Linked DNA regions of Homo sapiens: region 1 is linked to region 2. The links are contacts of gene promoters, found by promoter capture Hi-C in blood cells and fetal thymus (Javierre and others, 2016). All regions are on one chromosome and are shown on one strand. The core of a region is centred on a gene start or on the middle of the fragment in contact, and the rest is flanking DNA. Distances in the headings are between cores, read along the strand shown. Region 1 overlaps GDI2 (GDP dissociation inhibitor 2). Region 2 holds the start of LARP4B (La ribonucleoprotein 4B).

The links. Contacts are between HindIII fragments. The CHiCAGO score rates a contact against its expected background, and 5 or more counts as called.
Region 1: a fragment that was not itself captured here is called in contact with the fragment with the promoter of LARP4B in region 2 in 1 of 17 cell types (monocytes); the score reaches 10.7 in monocytes.

Annotation. Positions count from the first base shown.
Region 1 is chr10:5,806,794-5,812,780 of GRCh38, forward strand. All of the region lies in intron 1 of GDI2 (GDP dissociation inhibitor 2), which reads right to left. LOC124902367 (a long non-coding RNA gene) reads right to left here. Exons shown (of 2, transcript XR_007062041.1): 1 at 5,522-5,987; 2 at 1-5,163. Among named protein-coding and RNA genes, the nearest start is that of GDI2, 3.6 kb to the right of the region's middle. RefSeq lists a silencer at 5,922-5,987. The HindIII fragment of the contact is 3,008 bases long and covers 2,590-5,597 here.
Region 2 is chr10:929,473-935,791 of GRCh38, forward strand. LARP4B (La ribonucleoprotein 4B) reads right to left here and starts at 2,233. Exons shown (of 18, transcript NM_015155.3): 1 at 1,956-2,233. LOC124902363 (keratinocyte proline-rich protein-like) reads left to right here and starts at 2,519. Exons shown (of 2, transcript XM_047426111.1): 1 at 2,519-3,643; 2 at 5,364-6,319. The coding sequence starts at 2,655. The coding sequence ends at 3,359. LARP4B-DT (LARP4B divergent transcript) reads left to right here and starts at 3,554. Exons shown (of 3, transcript NR_120629.1): 1 at 3,554-3,643. RefSeq lists silencers at 1,424-1,553, 1,644-1,723, 1,754-1,863, 1,934-2,643, 2,724-2,813. The HindIII fragment of the contact is 3,248 bases long and covers 415-3,662 here.

The DNA.
Region 1 (5,987 bases), core at 2,844-5,343, 4.9 Mb after region 2:
ACACAGCAGAGGAAGACAGTTACATTCCCAGCTGACAAAAGTAGACTGCAGACTTTTGAAAGCAAAATCTCAGCAAGCAAATTGGAGTGTTGCACAGCTTCTATATATAACCTTTCACACTAAGCATGACCCACTGGACTATGGCCGTAAAGCAAGCACTGAGGCCTAAAATAAAGGGCCCAGTAATTTAAAGATGTGGCCGAGTCCAAAGAGCTGACAGCAACTACCTTCAAAGGCACCACTTGGAGCAAATATGACAAGAGCTAACTAAAGCTAATAAAAAATCTGCAGGCCCACTAGTTCCTCTATACCCAACTATTATAAAAGACTGCTTCCACACTGCTAAAAGAATATATAATAGCACAAACATAATAAGCTTTGTTTTAAAACATGGGTGAAGTCATTAATTGATAGAATTTATCAGTCATATCTGGGCACAGTATATATTAATGATCCTAAAATTTTAATATTTTTCCAAAATTACCAGCTCAAAATTAAATTCTACTACAACCTATCTGATGAATACACAATATTCACAAGCAAAGCACATTAAAGCCATAAAAACTAAGCTTCTCTTTTTCACACTAGAAAAGCTGGTCCATCTATCATGTACATCAAGTAACTTTAACCACGAAACTTGTATGTGAATGAATATTCACCAACATGAGTTGTAAATGTAACAGGTAAGAGTACCCACTGTAACTTCAAACTCACCTACAAATGACCTAAGCAGGATAAGAATACATATTCACATCCAAAATCACTAAGACTATAAAACCATCTTCAGAATCCAAGTTCTGTATGACACTAGCATCTGCCACCCACCTGGCACTTGACGTTCTCCTACATAAAAACAGGTAACCAACCAAAATGGTTTTTAATATTTAATTGCACCAAAGTGCTAGTACGTGTAGATATGTGGATGTGGGGCTGGGGGACAGAACCATCAGCGATACTGACGTTCTCTTCCTTCAGCACCCTACACATACCACCAGAGTTGCAATCATCAAAAACAGAATAACTCATTTGGACAACACCCAAATATATTAGACAAAGCACCTGAAGAGGCTGAATGAAATTTCTATATATGAATTGTTACACCTACATGGTGTTTCCACGGCCAGTAACAATGGTATGCTGAAAAATTAATGCCCACTCCCCAACCCCGATTACAGAGCAATTTAGACTTGGAAGGGAATAGAGCCAAAATTTATTAATATTTTGATATACCTTCCTAGTGACAAACTAAACTCTATACCCTGGCTGGGCAAGGTGGCTCACGCCTGTAATCCTAACACTTTGGGAGGACGAGGCAGAAGAACTGCTTGAGCCCAGGAGTTTGAGACCAGCCTGGACAACATGGCAAAACCCCATTTCTACAAAAAATACCCAAACTACATGCCTCCTGTAGTTCCAGCTAACTTGGGAAGCTGAAGTGGGAGGATCATTTGAGCCTGGAAGGTTGAGGCTACAGTGAGCTGTGATCACACAACTGCACTCCAGCCTGGGTAAGAGACCGAGACCCTGTCTCAAAAACAAACAAACAAAAAATCCTCTACACCCTATCAAATCCTACTGCATTTTAAAGTTCTGTTATGGGCTGGGTGCGGTGGCTCTCGCCTGTAATCCCAGCACTTTGGGAGGCTGAGGCAGGCAGATCACCTGAGGTCAGGAGTTCAAAACCAGCCTGGCCAACATGGTGAAACCCCATCGCTACTAAACATACAAAAAAATTAGCCGGGCGTGGTGGTGAGCACCTGTAATTCCAACCACTTGGGAGCCTGAGGCAGGAGAATTACTTGAACCGGGGAGGCAGAGGTTGTAGTGAGCTGAGATTGAACCACCGCACTCCAGCCTGGGTAACAGAGAGCTCTGTCTCAGAAATAAAAAGTATTGTTGTTATTAAAAAAAAAAAAAAAAAAAAACTACAAATACACACACACACACACACACACAAATGTGATCAGGAGTACAAAGTATCTAATAACTAATATTAAAGTGCCTTTTCAAAACTACTTACCTAGAAACATGAGAAATTAACCAGAAAAATTTTAAATCAGTTCATTTCAATGGCAAGTATCTTACAGCAACATAATAAAAATGGCTGTTTTATGAAGAATGTTTCTTTAAATGACTCTGCCCCTCTAATGCATCTCATTAAAAACTGTCAGCCAGGCGCGGTGGCTCATGCCTATAATCCCAGCACTTTGGGAGGCCTAGGCGGGTGGATCACCTGAGGTTAGGAGTTCGAGACCAGCCTGATCAATATGGTGAAACCCCATCTCTACTAAAAATACAAATATTAGCTGGGCATGGTGGCAGGCACCTGTAATCCCAGCTACCCGGGAGGCTGAGACAGGAGAACTGCTTGAACCTGGGAAGCAGAGGTTGCGGTGAGCCGAGATCACATCACTGTACTCCAGCCTGGGCAACAGAGTGAGACTCCATCTCAAAAAAAAACAAAAAAAAAAACTGTCAAAAGATACCTTCTCTTGAAATGTGGCTAATTATATCACTCTCCTGCTCAAAGTCCTCTCTCACTGCCTTGAAGATAATTTTCACATTTCTTAGCCTAGAATCTCTCTCCAAAGCTTCTGTTTCAAGCAAAACAAACCACTCCCCATTCCCTACATACATCCTTGACTTAGCATTGACTTACACTGACTGCTCTCTGCCTAAAAAATCATTCCTCCATTCAAACCTTGCCAATATTTTTTTAAAGCCAGCTAAATATCTCCTTCTTTACGAAGGTTTTCCTGATTCCCTGACTGAACTCATATAAGTGCACCTCTTAGGGGACTTAATGCTTTCTCATACTAATTCTTATTAGTTACTCTCCAACACGAGAACAAGCTACTTATAGACAGGTTCTGTGTTTACCTTTTTACTGCCCATAACTGATCACAATAGTCACTGGGTTTAAATAACTGAAACTGAAACTATTACTCCAGTAAGAGTCTCCAATCAGGTACCATGGGAGGGAAGACAGAGGTAATTGCAGTGTATCACGCATGTGAACATCTACCAGTGGTCTTTAAAAACCAATGTCACACTATTGTCATCTCTACATGCTAAAATATGTCTAATTTCACTTATATTTTCTTTTGGCCAGGATGCTTAACGCTGGTTTAAACTGCCTACAACACAGCTCCCAAGTGTAACAGCATTTGCAAATATTGATCCTATGCTCACTACTGTAGTGAATAGAAAGTCCTTTGTCTACAGAACTCTAACACAGCTATAAGCAAGAACTCTCAAAGAGCAAATCAAAGATTAAGCAAATCCAAGAGGCAATCTGAATTTTAGTTCAGAATTTTAAAATCAAGTATAAAACCTTCTCTGAATCTGAAATCACAAAATTCTGATAAAGAGAAATGAGGAAAAGTATCTGGGATGTAAAGCAAGTTTTTAAACATATGATGCTGAGAATCATCTGGTATACATCACTAAAGTATATATTTCTATTCATAAATTCTTACTGTGTAGAACAAAAAATGGGAAGAAAAAAACCTCTGGGAAGCACAAACAGCTGTGGAACTAGTTACTCTTATTGTTTTAATCTACTATGTCTAACAAGACTCGTGAATTTATTTCCAAGTCCATAGTGAACTATGTGCAAATTATGTGGTGAGAGGCTGCCTACACATGCTGAAAGCAGAGAAAAGTAAATGTTGCCAGCCTAACAGTAAAGTAAGATAGAGGGAAAAAATATGAAGAGTAAACTGAAGAGCTCAAAAAGCATAGCAGCCTGAGAGTAAAGGGGGCAAAAGTTCCTACAAAGCTGGCGGGGTCTTCATGGCTTCACCATGTTACAGCATAACACAATAGTTAATCTTCACTATGTGAAAACTTGGTTATCAAGTAAATTATGTTTCTTAGTTTGTTAAAGAAGTTGTGACAGCATTTAGAAAGGCATTATCCAAAAGCTGTGCTCTTTAGAGATAACCTTTAGTTCCTCAGAAAATTCAATTGTGTGGAATATTCCATTTCTTTTACACACAGAATGAAGATTTTACTCCTTTATACCAAATCGTTTTGTATCTTCTTGATTAAGATAACTATCAATATTTGTGATTATGAGCTTAGACTTAACAACTCATACAAACAATGGCAGCACTAAGCAACACAGCAACTCCAGCACTTCCTTACACTTCTTTAAAAGTAACAAGTTCCTAACACTGAAAGTACTTGCCTTTTTTTAGGTTCTTAAGTCTCAGGCACTAAAGTAAATTTTAAGAAAATTAATTAACTCCAGACATTCAAAAGTTAATTCTGAGTGCTAACTTTGGTTTTCTCTTCTTCTAATTTTTAATCATCTAATTCCTGGTAACACTAAAAATAAGGATATATGATTTCTCATTATCAAAATCATCCTGTCATCACTACTCCTATCAATGATGGTAATAATGTGATTGTCCTGAATTGATATAATTATCAAAGAACATCTCAGAAAACTTAGGAAGGCTCACAGAGATTAAAGTTATCACAGCTACAAAATGACAGCAGAAACAGGTCTGATTTCTAGTTAAGTATGCATCTACCATTCATCAAAGAGTTCACAATCCGAATGAAAATTTAAACAAAGCTCATTATCTTAACTTGTTATATAAAAACACTTTCACCATCTTTGATACAAAGTGATGTGAACGAGGCTTGTGGAAGCCTGCATGATGGTGGATTTGCACTCACTCGTGCATGCTTAACTGACCTCAATTGTGAGCAAATCTGAAAGACCAGCAACAACCATAGAAAAACGGTGGAACTAACCGGCTCTTAAAACACGCTGGCAGCAACACTACCCATTCCAACAGGCAAAATCCACCACAAACTACTAAGCTCAGCTTGGAATCCCAATTAGGCACTTAAAAAAAAAAAAAAAAAAGCACAAAACCTGCAGTGGGTAGGGCCTATTCATTTAGGCATCCAACAGTCTTCCAGCTTTTCAAAGACAGACACAGGATTATTCCTGGATTGGTCAAACATAACGAAGTATTCAGAATGAATATTCTCTAATAATTGCATATAACTATAAACAGAAAAATGACAGACCAGAAAAACACGATTCTAATTCTTCACAAACCTTTCCTAAAAAATTAGCCAAATAAAAGTTCGAAGGTTTTCTCTTGCCTAGAGACATCTAAAAGTGTTATTTTGGGATGTTACCTGTAAAAAAAAAAAAAAAAATTGGTTTGACCCTGAGAGATTATAATAAATTTCAAAAAATTTGAAGTGGAAGTCTACATTAAATGACTCAGGAATTTGAAGTCAGAGTACATAGGATACACAAGATTTACATCAGTATTCATCTTAATTATGATCAAGCAGCCCAAAGTTAGAATTTCAAATTTCCCCAAAAATTGATAGTTAAAATGGTTTTCTCCAAAGTGAATTCTTTTGCAAGATGAACATTTAAAAAAAAAAAAAAAAGAACAGAAAAAGTACAAACTACAGAACCTGCCTGCGTTATCTACAGATTACCTAAAGTTCCCTTAGAAACAGATAACCAGGAAAATCAATATACCATGATATTAGGTACACCTTGCATTCATATATTACAATGCATTCTTCATGTTATTATCTTCCAACTCCCTGAAGAAAGCTTCGGAGTACAGAGAACTTGGCTTTTAGCAATCCATCACCAACCCAATTCTTAGGGGAAAACAGTCCAGAAGAGACAAAGGAGGCAGAGAACCCACCAAACAAAAGGAAAAGGCGGCGAAGGTCAGGTGCGAAAGCATTTGACGGACAAGTTTTGAAAAAACTCAATTCCAATTCTACAGATGCTCAGTAAGTGAGAAGGGAGGGTGGCTAAAAGGATTCAATAATACTTCTCATTAGCAGGGGGGAGAAAGGATTAAAAGACTAATTTCCACGTTTTCGCCAAAAATATAAGTTAATCAAGCCCTAGCAGTTCCGAAGCAGTGATTATCCAAGACTTGTCAGGAAACCCCGTACTCGGCTTTGGCAGCCAGACTGACCCGGGGCAG
Region 2 (6,319 bases), core at 983-3,482:
TAAATCCCAGCTACTCGGGGGGCTGAGGCAGGAGAATAACTTGAAGACCTAGGAGGTGGAGGTTGTAGTGAGTTGAGATCGTGTCACTGCACTCCATCCTGGGTGACAGAACAAGACTCCAACTCGGGGGGGGAAGAAAAAAATCAGTAATAGTGAAAATAGCAAAACCAGACAACATTTCCATGTTTGTGTTACAACAGTCCTAAGAAAATGAGATTATCATCATCCCCCTGTTACAATTGAGAAAATGTAGGCAACACGAGGGTAACTTCTAATGAATAAGCCATGCCTTTGTTTCATATAAATAAGTCAACTCAACTCACATTAACTTTTCAAAATACCGGATAAAATTTATTTCTAACCAATGCAAGTTTCAAAGATAAGTACACAAATTAAATTTATGATTAAATAATAAGCTTGTTAATCTGATGCCTTTCGGAACGCATTTCACTTAGCAAACCTCAATTAAGCTATTTCTTATATGGTTTGATTACAAAACTGCCTTTCAGCATATTAAATACAAGGAGAAAAAACTGAAAAGCCACAACGATTTCAACTTCTGTAAATTACCCTGACTGTAATGAGGGGCGCCAGGCAGGTTGGGGAAGTATGGAAATTGCACACTGCACACACCACCTGACCACCAAGAAAAAAGAGGACACCACTCTTCCCCACTGTGGTCTTCACAAACTACAACTCAGCACCTATTTCAAGTGCATTTAAATATTCAAACAACTGAAACTAAGAGAAAAAAACTTTCGAAAGGGAAAATAACTTGTCTGTCCCCTTCAATGTTCACCTTGGAGTTGCTCTCATCTCTAGAAAAAGGCCTCACGCATACTGTTTATACTTACAAACTCCACTGCCCTGTCAAGGAAAACCTTCCTGTTTTCTCAGTTATCCAAAACTTCAAACTTCCAATTTACTATTAAGACAAGTTATTGGGCATCCACTTAGAGAATCTCAAACGAAAGCCAGATAGGAGGTAGTTTTCTACAGCTAGGTTTCTCAAGTTTCATCTCAGCCAAGTTTTAAGAACGTTTTACGTAAAAATAAGGGGAAAAGCAAAATTACATTCGCATGAAGTTTCGACGCACAACGGCACTGAAACGGAAAGACTCTTCACGTTCCCAAGCGCACCCTGAGAGGCAGGTGCAGCAGCTTTCCGATGGCTTCTCTGCCGCCCATGTATCCCAGCCCCAAGACCAACACAGGCAATCTTCACATCTGACTTTATTTTTTTAACTCCTTCAGATCCACCTCTGCTCAAGTCTATCAACAGGAAAACAGGAGCGTTCCAAACACACACCGAGCAACAGGATCCCAACTTCCTGGTTCTAAAGGAATGCGATGCCCTGATGACCCGTCCCGCCCCGCACCCGCACGGCCGCCTATCCGGGCTCCGGCGGGACCGAGGAGCGAGTGGCAAGGCTGGCGCCGCACTGCGGGTGCCGGCGCCCGCCCGGCCTGGGGGCGCTCGCGGCCCGCGACCCCGGCCCCGCCCAGGCCCTGCCCGACCCCCGTCCTCGCCGGCCTTCGCCCAACCCCGGCCTCCCGACCCTGACCCCGGCCCGGTCTTCCGGGCACCCAGCTCCGTCGACTCCCGCCTCGCCTCAACGGGTCCTCCTAAGCCCCGGCCCCGGCCTTCCCCTGCCCCGGCCTCGGCCATCCTCAGCCCCAGTTTTCCCCTGCCCCGGCCCCGGTCCTCCTCAGCCCCGGCTTTTTCCTGGCCCTGACCCCGGTCCTCCTCAGCCCTGGCCCTTCCCGTGCCCTAGCCCCGGTCCTCCTCAACCCGGCCCCGGCCTTCCCCTGCCCCGGCCCCGGCCCCGGCCCAGGCCCGGCCCTGCCCGCCGCGGCCGCGTCCTCCGGGAAGATGGCGGCGCAGTGACAGGCGGCGCGGCGCGGGTCCGAGCTGGGCCGGGAGGGACGGCCCGCCGCGGCCCAGGGTGCCTCACCTGTCAGCGCCGCCGCCCCGCCCGACCGGCCGCCCGCGGGCTCCTCGCCTCAACCCCGGGGCCCGGCGGCCGCGCCACACGCGGGGACGGCGAGGAGAGAGACGGCAGGGAGAGGCGGCGCGGCCGGGCCGGGCCGGGCCGGAGGTAGGGGAGAGGGCGGGCGCGAGCTGGCGGCGGCGGCGGCGGCGGATTCTTCCCCTTTCGGGCCCGAAAATGTCTCAACCCCGGGACTCCAGATCCCCAACGCTCCTTCCCGTTCGCATGAGAACACACAGCTCCCACTTCCGGGGCCCTGCGGAAGTCCCGCCCCCGCGCGGACCCGCGCCTCGCGCCCTGAACTCGCGCACTCACCCGCCGGTCCCGCGGACTGGCGCTCAGCCCCGGGAGAGCCTCACGTCATGGTGTTGCGGCGCGCTGATTGGGCGCACCCGACGCTCGGCCCGCCCCGCCGCCTTCTTGGCCTCTCCGCGCGTACACCCTGCTCGCGGCCTTGCGATTGGCGCGTGCGCGCACATCGCCCCGCCCCGCGCACGCCGCACGTCCGCCCCGCCCGCCCCGCCCGCCCCGCCCGCCGTCCCCGGCGCGACCGGAGCGCCTGACGCTGGGGGGCCGTGTGGGCCCTGACTTCCGGAGGGCTGGGCCCTGGTCCTCCGCCACCGCGTGCGCCCCTTAAAGACCCCTGCCCGCCGCCCAGGACGGATGGCGACCCCGGCCCTAGCCTGTCCCCAGACCCTGGACCAAGGCCCCGGCCCTGCCCCGAACCCCTCATCCCACCCCCAGGACCCAGGCCCCGACCCTGGCCACCCAGGACACGCCCTGGCCCTTCCCCGAACTCCCACCCCACAGCTGGGATCAAGGTCCCGGCCCTGCCCGGAACACCTCACCCCACACCCGGGACCCAGGCCCCGGCCCTGCCCCGAACTCCCACCCCACACCCGGGACCAAGGCCCCGGCCCTGCCCCGAACCCCTCACCCCACCCCCGGGACCAAGGCCCCGGCCCTGCCCAGAACTCCCACCCCACACCCGGGACCAAGGCCCCGGCCCTGCCCAGAACTCCCACCCCACACCCGGGACCAAGGCCCCGGCCCTGCCCCGAAGGCCCCACCGGGGACCCAGGCCCCGGCCCTGCCCCAAACTCCCACCCCACACCCGGGACCAAGGCCCCGGCCCTGCCCCGAACGCCCCACCCGGGACCCAGGCCCCGGCCCTGCCCCAAACTCCCACCCCACACCCGGGACCAAGGCCCCGGCACTGCCCCGAACGCCCCACCAGGGACCCAGGCCCCAGCCCTGTCCCGAACTCCCGCCCCACACCTGAGACGAAGGTCCCGGCCCCGAAGTCCCAACCCCACACCCGGGACCAAGGCCCCGGCACTGCCCCGAACCCCCGCCCCACACCCCTAACCAAGGCCTCGGCTCAGCCCCGGAATCCCCAACCCCACACCTGGGATCAAGGCCCCGGCCCTTCCCCAAACCCCCAACCCACACCCGGGACCAAAAGGCCCCGGCCCCACGTTTCCTAGAGGCGCTGGGTTCGGGCCCACGTTGCAACGAGTCAGATGCTCTTGGTAGCTCAGGGAGGTGTTCACACTCCTGCCGTTTCCGTGAGGATGGTGACGACTCCGAACTATAGCAGCATACTCTACCTACCCCTGATCAGTTTATGGAAGAAAAGGAAACCAAACAAAGTATGTTGCGTTTCCCTTAAGCTTGCTGCCTGATTTTCTGGTTTCTGCTCTGATTGGCTACATATACACATATTATCAATTATTCCAAATTTTAGGTTTGTTCCCCCATTAAAACGGCTTTTCAGGGATACCATATTCATGGTTAACCGTGTACCTGTGCTTACAACTGCTTTTTTAATTTTGTTTTTTGATACAGGGTCTTGCTCTATGCAGGTCTGCACTCTGAGCTCAGAGTGCTGTCTCGGGCCCCCAAAATCTGGGATTAGAGATGGGAGCCGGTGTACCCAGCCTGTGCTTATAATTTTTCGTACTCAGCGTTCAAATGCTGACAATTCTGCATTTTGGAAGAAAGCCTCTCCGGCTTCCCATAGTGGGTAGACTGTTGACATCAAGGTTGGGTGCCTTCTTTGTGAAACCTTGTTGCATCCTAGCTTTAAGGGAATTTGCAAGTTAAATAATTATATTCATAGTAATGTTTTTAAAGAACATTTAACGACATAAGACACATTTCCTTTAATATTAAAAGCATGTACATATTTCAGAAAACTTGCTTACCTGGACAACCTGCCCTGACCAGTAGGCCATAGTGTCCTTGCTTAGGTGCCTGGTTCCTTTACCTCCACGGATAACCTACAGGAGCTTACTCTTGGTTCATAACATTGCTAGGGCCATTGATGTGGTATAAGTCTAGGAATTCTGCCCCAAAATTGGTAGGTTAAACTTTTTTTTTTTTTTGAGACTGACTCTCCCTCTGTCACCCCGGCTGGAGTGCCGTGGCATAATCTCGGCTCACTGCAACCTCAGTCTCCCGGGTTCAAGTGATTCTCCTGCCTCAGCCTCCGGAGTAGCTGAGACTACAGCCGCATGCCACCACGCCCAGCTAATTTTTTGTATTTTTAGTAGAGATGGGGTTTCACCGTGTTAGCCAGAATGGTCTTGATCTCCTGACCTCGTGATCCGCCTGCCTCAGCCTCCCTAAGTGCTGGGATTACAGGCGTGAGCCACCGTTCCCGGCTGGTAGGTTAAACTTCAATCTTTTTTGTCTATGTCTACATTCCAGCAGACATCTATGTCTTACCTATTACAAAAGAAAGTAATGGGATGGGTTCAGTGGCTCATGCCTGTAATCCCAGCACTTTAGGAGGCCAAGGCAGGCAGATCGCCCAAGGCCAAGAGTTCAAGACCAGTCTGGGCAATATGTCAAAGCCCCATTTCTTTAAAAAATTATACAAAAGTAGCCGGGCATGTGGTGCATGGCTGTGGTTCCAGCTACTCAGGAGGCTGAGGTGGGAGGATCGCTTGAGGTTGAGGCTGCAGTGAGCTGTGATTGTGCCACCGCATTCCAGCCTGGGTGACAGAGCGAGACCCTGTCTCAAAAAAAGAAAAAGAAAAAAACTAAAACTAAAAGAATTCCATCTCTTCTTTCTCTTCGTATTGTGTAATCCTTTCCAACAATCAGAACTGGGCTTTTTGTTCCCTCATGATCTTCTTTTTTTCAAACCTGTGTCTCAGAAGAAACATCCATTTTCACCTTGAGATGTGAGGTTATAACATGAAATACATTTTCATGGCATCTCTCCTTAGACAAGATCAGTTTTTTAAAACTTTAGTATAAATTTCTCAAACCATGATCAGATACACTCCCTCATTTCCCATGTCAAGTGGTTACAAATTCTGTCAATCCTACCTAAAAACTCTTTCCTTCTCCCCGTCCCCCCAGTGGTTTTGCCGTTGTTACTGCTCACCTGGTTTGATTCAGTGGCGTCGCGGTTGGTCTCTGCTACAGTCCATTACTCACAGTGCCAGCACATGTTTCCTTAAAAAGCTTCATCACCATCCTCCTGCAATGCGACCTTCACCGGCTCCCCGTTGCCTGCCCAGGAGGATAAAGTCCAAGTTCTCCTGTGGAAAGAAGACCCTTCACACGCTAGTCCCAGCCTGTCTTCAGCCCAGCCCCCTGTGTTTCCTTTCCTGCCTTATCCTAAGACATCCTTACCTTCCAATCACACTCACTTTCCGAGCATTTTTGAAGGTATTGAGGGAGTTGATGAGTCTACACTTGAATAAAATACAGACTTTACACTCCAGACTGCACAGTTGACAGGTAAGTCCACAGTTCATAGTGTGGACAGTCCTATACAAAGAAATGGAGAGGTGCCCCAGCTCCAGACGCTGCGCTGCTCTGGAAGTCGAGGGCGGCATTCTTTTGGAGCCTGAGCACTTAGGTCCTAATGGATGTGAGTCCCCTGGCCTCAAATGTGCTTCCTGTACTTGGATGTCTCCTTCTGGCGGAATCTCGCTTATTTTTCAAGTTACAGCCCAAATGTCAACCACTGAAGTGTTTTAGACAGTTGATTTTCCTTCTGGGCCCTATTATTAGCACTTGTTTGTAGCTCTGTTGAGCTACATCACATCATACAATTTTCAGCTGACACTACTGTCATCCCAAAGAAATGGTCAGGCCTCAAGGGCAGAGGCAGCGAGGGCAGTGATCTTGGGACAAAGTCTCTACCAAACAAATACAGCATGTGTATTTCTCTAGCAGAGGCCTACATTTCAAGTGGTGTCTGAGAACATTCTTTTCTTTTTCTTTTTTCTTTTCTTTTCTTTTTTTTTTTTTTTTTTTTGAGTCTCCCTCTGTCTCCCAGGCTGGAGTGCAGTGGCACAATCTTGGCT